2 separate regions of the Homo sapiens genome follow, and region 2 is linked to region 1. Evidence: promoter capture Hi-C in human tissues and cell types (Jung and others, 2019). All regions are on one chromosome and are shown on one strand. Each heading gives the region's core, a stretch centred on a gene start or on the middle of the fragment in contact. The rest is flanking DNA. Distances are from core to core; before and after follow the strand shown.

Region 1 (3,946 bases), core at 1,267-3,766:
AATTTTGGTAGTGAAAAGGCCAGATGTGACTCCTAGGAACATGTAAAATTTATTTCAGACATGATTGTTCAAATCTGAGAGAAGAAAACATGGTAAATAATGTAAATCCAATTTTGACGAACCGTTTTTTAAAAATTATAAGTAACAATCGTGGTCATGAAACTTAAAACAACTAGGATTTTTATTCTGTAAGAAACATAAACCACTTTAATTTCTGATACAAAGCACACAGGCAGATAGTTACATTTTCTTGTATTTTAAAATAATTTCTGTGGGTTTGCAAGCACAAGTTAAGGCTCAGGTTAGTTTTTCTCTGTCTTCAAGATATTCCTAGAGGGTGTATTTTCAATTCCTCAGAAGTTATTTCAAGAGGTGTTATATCCTCAATTAAACATAGAAGATTAAGCTAGAAGCTCCCTTTCATTATATTTTAGCTATTTTCATTGCAAACTCTAGTACAATCTGTCAATGTAGATAAGAGAAATAACTGAAGTATAGCTTCAAAATAAGTGAAACAGGTTTATAAATCACAGGTAATCAATATTAAGTCCTGACTTTTAAAATATTAATACTAATGAAAGTCATTTTCTAACAAGTATCAAAAACAAAAGCAAATAAAAATTCAGGTGCTAGATTACAACCTTACACCTTACAACTGTAGCCAAATCTGCTGTTTGGCTTTAAAGTTCCACACAAAATCTTAACCTACAAATTTAACATTTCAAACCCACAAAATACAAGTACCAGAGTCACCCACAGTCATGTCAAAGGGCTTTCCAAGGTCTTAGAAACCTTAATCCAATACAGAAAAGCTAAGAGTCAAAAAGACATAGAAACAGGGAAAAGTGAAGGTGTTATTTGCCAAACATTAAACTTTCACAGAAATCCAAAACCTACTTAACAATTTCCCTATATCGAACAGCATAACCTCTATGCAAATGCAGTCATTTATTAGCATTTACTGTACTTACTTTGCTTTTTGCCATTTATAAGCTTCATTAAAGACACCCACAAAGAAGTAACCAGTTGAATGAGCTTCAGTCAAGAAAAACCAGCTGTAAACTCGACCTACAAATTTACATCCCACAGCGTCCTGTGGGGAAGGTACACTTTACAAACTACCATTATATATACAAGCTTTAGATTGTGAAATAATGCACTTCGGCTTTCTCCGGTGTACATTACAATTACAAACCCTCAACTCAACCTCCCCCTTCGTTGAAAAAAAAAATCCACCTCCAATCCTCATTGGTCCACATAGTTCCGGCCCACATGGTATCAGTGGGTGTGTCCCTCCCAAAAAACCCTCTCATTGGCCGTGAAGAAACAGCTTCTAATAGGCTGTGATTTTGGGGGGTAGTTAAACTCCACGCCTCCAGACTTGCGCTCTCCAATAGACCCGAGACGCTGCTGGCTACTCTGTGATTCAAAGGGCAGGCAACCCCAGTAGGACGCGCTCAGAGAAGCGAGAGGGGTGAGAAAGGAGAGAGCACCCTCGGTGTGCCGCCCACTTTATCCTCACTCCTGGACCCCAGCAAATGTTCACACACCTGCGTTTTCCCAGCCACCAATTAGAAGGGCGGACAGAGCGTTCGCTTATTATATATCCTTGACCTAGGGACCCGCTCAAGCTTCGTGTCCAATCCTCGTTCTACTGATAGAAGCGAGCAAAGGGCAGGCTCAGGCAAAGACCTGTAGTGCTTGATGTCCCCTAGGAAAAGAATCAGTCCCGGGAACCTACTCTGTGCAGTCCCTCGACCGCAGACGCGGGGGCGCACGGGGCGTGCTGCGGCGCCTGCCTCAGCCGCTCCCAGTCCCGGGCCCCGCACGCTGCGTCTGCCTTGCGCCCGCGCTCCCCTCCCAGCGGGACTTACGCGGCCTGTTCTTTCTCCCCGAGTCCATCCTCCTCCGCAGCCGGCATTTCTTGGCCGGGGAGTCATGCTGAGGGAGCAGTGGCTGCGGCTGCAGCTCCGGCAGGAGCGGGAGGCGCTGGGGCGCCGCGTCGCTGCCGCCCACTGGACCCCGGCTGCAGACGTGCGGCGGCTGGACTGGCGGCGGATGGAAGCCGTTGTGCAGCAGCCCGTTCACAGCGGCGGCGCTGGTGCCCACGGGGGCCCCTGGAGAGTGCGGGACCGAGCGCTCCTGCTGCCCGCTGCGGTCGCCCATGCCGGGGGCTGGCGGGGCTGTGCGCGGGCCCCGGCTCAGGCGGCCTCGCTGGAGGTCATTCTCCGGCGTCTTTATTTCCCCGGATCCTCCCTGCGGCTTCCGATTCAGCAGCCGCAGAGCCGGCGCCTGGGGATGGCGAACCCGGCGCTCCTCCCCTCCTCCTGCCGACTCCCCCACCTCCTCTGCGCCCTGCCCCCCGCGCGCCGGCCCCACGGCGCCGGCCTGGAGCACGCCAGCCCCGGGCGCGGAATCGGGGATCCCCGCGCACCCCCAGCCGGGGCTCCCGCCGCCCGCCTTCCCCTGATCCCCAGGCCGCGCGACTTCAAACGCGGCTTCCTCGCCTCCCAGACTGGTCCCCGCCACTGAGCATGCCCAGTCCTGCCCGCCACCGCCACCGACGAGTTTCAACATGGGGAATCAAGTTCTCTGGGCTTGCAGAGAGGAGATGGGCGGGTTGGGCTTTGTATGGCGATGTGAAAACCAGATGGGTCTGGGAGAGACAGCGAAAGGAGCGAACCGTTTCAGGAGGAATACGGGAGGAAGACAATTATTTGCAGAGGTGTCAGGTTTGCTAATCCTGTCCCCAGTGAGCAAGATACCTTTGCAAGGTCATTCACGTTACCCTCCCCGCTTTGTGAGTGTGTGCTTACGCGCGCGCGCGTGTGTGCCTGTGCGTTTGGTTAAGTGACCAAACTACTTAGAGGCCTGAGGGGAGGGAGAACAATTATTTATAGAAAAGTTGGCAGACTTGGGGAGGGAGGGGAGTGAAATTTCTTTGCTGGCACGCACACACACTCAAACACCATGTGGTCTCATGGAGTTGTCTTTTGCAGGGAGGAAACCTAGGAATACAGTGTAAGGACAGTGAAGGACAAAACTGTAGGCAGGATTAATCGGTGCTGAAAGAGATCAAGTAAACAGGAGCAATTCCATGCTATAAAAAGCACTTTCCTCACCCAGAAAGGACTTCAAAAGACAATGTCATGTTATTTATAGAGTAAGGAGTTGCCTCTTCTAAGAAGGGAAGGCGGCATCACGTGGTGACCAGCACTACGAGCTTTGGAGTTAGCACTGGGTTCAAATTCCAACTCAGCCACTGAGCAAACCCAGATAACGTTAATGCTCAAGGTAACACTTCTAGCAATAGGAAACGGGACTGTCCATGCTCACTATGCAGGACTAATTTGGGTGGTGAATACCTTCCCAAAGTTATGCAATCTCTTGAGGCCTCACTTTCCTATCCATAATGGGGCTGTTGTGAGAAAATCTACTAAAAGTACCTGGTACAATCCTGGCACACAGTAAATGCTCAGAAAGCTAGTTTTCCTTATTACGCTATTATGATTAGCAGTTCACCCTTTGTTTCGACAGGGGAACAAACCATGCTTACAGCCGTATTTATTGTGTGATTTATTTTGTGATATTCTCCGTGATTTGCAATTAATCTACAGAGGAGTCAGAGTCTGGCAGGTGCTGGCTGGCTACTGGGTTGCTGGGCCCCTGGGCTTCAGTGCATTCAGCAGCATCTAGGGCTTGCATCTGGCAATTCCTTCCAGCAGAGCCTTACCTAGAATCAGAGCTTGAGAACCATGGGGGCCACTGGAGCACTCTGGTCTATCCACTCTTGCATACTTTTTTCGTATCAGGAAACTGAGCTGCAGACAGATGGCTGAGGTTATTAAGAGCAAAGGTGGGACTAAACTCCAAATCTCAACTCTCTTAGCTTCCCTAACCTTATGCTATTTAAAGACAGAGAAAAAAACCCAGGTGATCTGGCCCC
Region 2 (3,966 bases), core at 1,035-3,534, 360 kb before region 1:
CCCTTTAGTGTTCCATGTGCATTCACATGCAGGGTCTACACTGTTGCTGTTGATGAGGCAAGAGTTAATCAACTTTACTCTTCTCATTCCACAGAGATGGAAACCAAGGCACAGAACTACTGTGACTTTCCCAGAACCTCAGACCTAGACTGGTTTGCACCTTGAACTTGATTCCAGGATATGGATTCATGAAATGTTAGTCATCATATTTCATACTGAGAAAGGTCCTGGAAGGATCATCCAGACCAACGATTTTTATTTCTCTGAGCATAAAACTGAGACCTGTTTTATGATTTATCTAATATCACAAACAGTTGGTGACAGAAGTAGGAAATACAGCTGAGGCCAAAACTCATTCTGAACAGCAAATGAAAACAGATACTTTTGGCCGGGCATGGTGGCTCATGCGTGTAATCTCAGCACTTTGGGAGGCTGAGGCAGGCAGATTACCTGAGATTGAGAGTTTGAGACCAGCCTGACCAACATGGAGAAACCCCGTCTCTGCTAAAAATACAAAAAAATTAGCCGGGCATGGTGGTGCATGCCTATAATCCCAGCTACTCAGGAGGCTGAGGCAGGAGAATCGCTTGAACCCAGGAGGCAGAGGTTGCGGTGAGCCGAGATCGTGCCATTGCACTCCAGCCTGGGTAACAAGAGCGAAACTCCGTCTCAAAAAAATAAAAAAAAAAGAAAGAAAGAAAACAGATACTTTCATCGAATCCATTATGTGCCAGGCACTATTCTAAGAGCTTCACAACAAGCCTATGAAATAGGTGCTACCACTCTTTACAGATGAAGAACGGATGCAAGTTCACACAAGCAGTGCATTTCAGAGTTGAAATCAGAAACTATATAGTTTAGATCCAGAGACTTGCTGCACTTAAGGAACACACTGAACAAGGGAAGTTCTAGAATTGGGCAGACCTGGACTTCTGTCCTTGGGCATATCACTTAAGTTCTCTGAATCTTCTCTTACTCATCTGTTAAATGGCCATATTTCACATGAGTGTAAAATGGAGTAAATTAGGTAAGTCCTATAAAGCCCTGAGCAAAAATTCTCAATCAATATTAGTGTTGAATTAAGTTTCACTTAAAGCTGCCTCCTTGCATATTTTAAGTTCACCCTGACAGTTTTTCTGTACATAGTAAACTATAACCTAACTGGATGTGTAAACAGACTGTAACCTACTCCTGTGCCACTCACAGTTTTGGCCAATCAAAGGTGGCCAACCATTCAAACCATGTTAAAATAAGGCAAATGCTGGGCTGTAACCAACACTTCCATTTCTGTACCTCACTTCTGTTTTTTATAGGTCATTTTCCTTTTTCTGTCCATAAATCTTCTACCAGGCAGCTGCACCGGAGTCTCTCTGAGGCCACTCTGGCTCGGAAGTCTGCCTGATTGGTGAATAATTCTTTGCTCAATTAAACTCTACTAAATTTAATTTGTCTAAGGTTTTTCTTTTAACATTAGCTACTGATGTCACTATTAATATTAGCTAGTGATGACAACAGTTCTCCGGAATCCACCCTAGTCCTGTGGTCATTTTTAGATTTCTGGTTCTCTGACCACTACATTGCTAATCCTCCTTCTAGTAAATTTTCATCTACCTTGAACTTCCTTACACACTATTCCCCCTAAACGTTGTTCCAGTTGAGTGCCCAGCCAGAAAGATTAAAGCTCTCCCTGCTGAAATCTCCTTTCCCTCCAGCAGGAAACCAGTGTAGTTATGTTGTTTGTACTTGCCAGGATACACTTCCATTTCATATTTGCAAGTACACATAAAGGTATCCTTCATCAGCAGCACAGTGCTTCCTTTCCTCTGAATCTGCCATCAGCTCAGGCAGATTTCTAAGCAGCAAATCAGCCTTTGCCAGAACACTGCAGGACACCAGTGCAGCGCCCAGCCTGCGACCATGAGGTAAAGGATTTTTTCTTGCATTTATCCCTTGAAATTATGTTGTGTGCCTTTGAAAACCTCAAGGTAGATTTTCTTAGGTGCTGGATTTGGGCATCTGCTTAAATATTTAACATATCTTAGAGAATACTTGTTTCTTGTTAATTCAGGCATTTTAAAATCTGTGGCGCTTCCAGACTCATATCAACATTCCCTGATGGAAGCCTTTAGCAATCCTAACCAGGAAGTGGCCAGAGCCTGGAGCCAGAGACGAACGTCCCTCATAGGAGGGGTTGCTGGAGGAGGAGGGGCAAATCTATTTCATTCTGTCCTTGCAGGCACATTTTCATCAGTTAATGATGCAAACCAGGCTGAAACGTTCTTAACAAGCATGTGTGTTTCTGTTTTTCATTTGAAAGTCAGGAGCATGAGGCTATATTCATCATAGAGGCAGGGTTTCTCTGTGTCAGAGCTCAGCATTGGCAGCTCTAGCAAAGGACAGGCTGCATTTAGCTGGTTCTTTTCTAAGGAGCCACAGTCAGGCACTAAACCAGCATCTACACCTCTGAGGCCCCTAAAAGCCTCCAGTGAAGCTGGGCTTGATCAGACCTCAAAAAGATCTCCCTTTGCATTTTGCTCTTAGTTCTCAGTGATCTTTAAAAAATAATAATAATAAAAAGATTAGAATCATGAAAGATTTTTCTCAGGATATGAATACTATAGGCACACTAAAGAAACTTTGGAAAAATGCCAGCAAGTATAAGCGAAAAAAAATCATACTGCCCCTTATATCACCCACTGAAATTAAAATATTTAAACATTATGCTTCTGTGTACACCTGTATACGCTATATGTCAGGCCTCTGAGCCCAAGCTAAGCCATCATATACCCTGTGACCTGCACGTATAAATCCGGATGACCTGAAGTAACTGAAGAATCACAAAAGAAGTGAAAATGGCCTGTCCCTGCCTTAACTGATGACATTACCTTGTGAAATTCCTTCTCCCAGCTCTTCCTGGCTCAAAAGCTCCCCCACTGAGCACCTTGTGCCCCCCACCCCTGCCAGCCAGAGAACATCCGCCTTTGACTGTAATTTTCCACTATCTACCCAAATCTTATAAAAACAGCCCATCCCATCTCCCTTCACTGACTCTCTTTTTGGACTCAGCTCGCCTGCACCCAGGTGATTAAAAAGCTTTATTGCTCACACAAAGCCTGTTTGGTGGTCTCTTCACATGGACGCGAGTGACATTTGGTGCCGTGACTCGGATCGGGGAACCTCCCTTGGGAGATCAATCCCCTGTCCTCCTGCTCTTTGTTCCAAGAGAAAGATCCACCTACGACCTCTGCTCCTCAGACCAACCAGCCCAAGGAACATCTCACCAATTTTAAATCGGGTAAGTGGCCTGTCTTTACTCTCTTCTCCAATCTCTCTCACTATCCCTCAACCTCTTTCTCCTTTCAATCTCGGCACCACACTTCAATCTTTCCCTTCTCTTAATTTCAATTCCTTTCCTTTTTTGGTAGAGATACGGGAGATGTGTTTTATCTGTGGACTCAAAACTCCAGTGCTGGTCACAGATTCGGGAAGACAGTCTTCCCTTGGTGTTTAATCACTGCAGAGATGCCTGCCTGATTATTCACCCACATTTCATTGGTGTCTGATCACCGTGGGGATGCCTGCCTTGGTCATTCACCCACATTCCCTTAGTGGCAAGGCAATTGTGGGGACACCTGCTTTGGCTGCTCACCCACATTTGCAGCCCAGGGCTGCTCACCCAACCCCTTCTCTCCATGTCTCTACCCTCTCTTTTCTCTCCACTTTCCTGGGGGGCAAGGACCCCCTACCCCTTCTCCACTTTCCTGGGGGGCAAGCACCCCCCACTCCTTCTCTCTGTGTCTCTACCCTCTCTTTTCTCTCCACTTCCCTGGGGGACAAACACCCCACCCCTTCCCCATGTTCCTGGGGTGCAAGAACCCCCCACCCCTTCTCTCTGTGTCTCTACCCTCTCTTTTCTCTGGACTTGCCTCCTTCACTATAGGCAAACTTCCACCCTCCATTCCTCCT

What was found. The method cuts DNA at HindIII sites, captures the fragments that hold promoters and counts their contacts. A contact is called where the count stands out against the background at its distance.
Region 2: a contact is called between a fragment that was not itself captured here and the fragment with the promoter of PANK1 in region 1, in 1 of the 25 tissues and cell types used here (dorsolateral prefrontal cortex).

The regions. Positions count from the first base shown.
Region 1 is chr10:89,642,726-89,646,671 of GRCh38, forward strand. PANK1 (pantothenate kinase 1) reads right to left here and starts at 2,517. Exons shown (of 7, transcript NM_148977.3): 1 at 1,875-2,517. The coding sequence starts at 2,166. PANK1-AS1 (PANK1 antisense RNA 1) reads left to right here and starts at 1,389. Exons shown (of 5, transcript NR_184344.1): 1 at 1,389-1,474. RefSeq lists silencers at 1,291-1,340, 2,041-2,520. The HindIII fragment of the contact is 3,851 bases long and covers 1,385-3,946 here.
Region 2 is chr10:89,281,970-89,285,935 of GRCh38, forward strand. LOC124902477 (a long non-coding RNA gene) reads left to right here and starts at 1,705. Exons shown (of 3, transcript XR_007062233.1): 1 at 1,705-1,922; 2 at 3,113-3,295. It also overlaps a transcript of LIPA not described here. The HindIII fragment of the contact is 7,397 bases long and covers 1-3,966 here.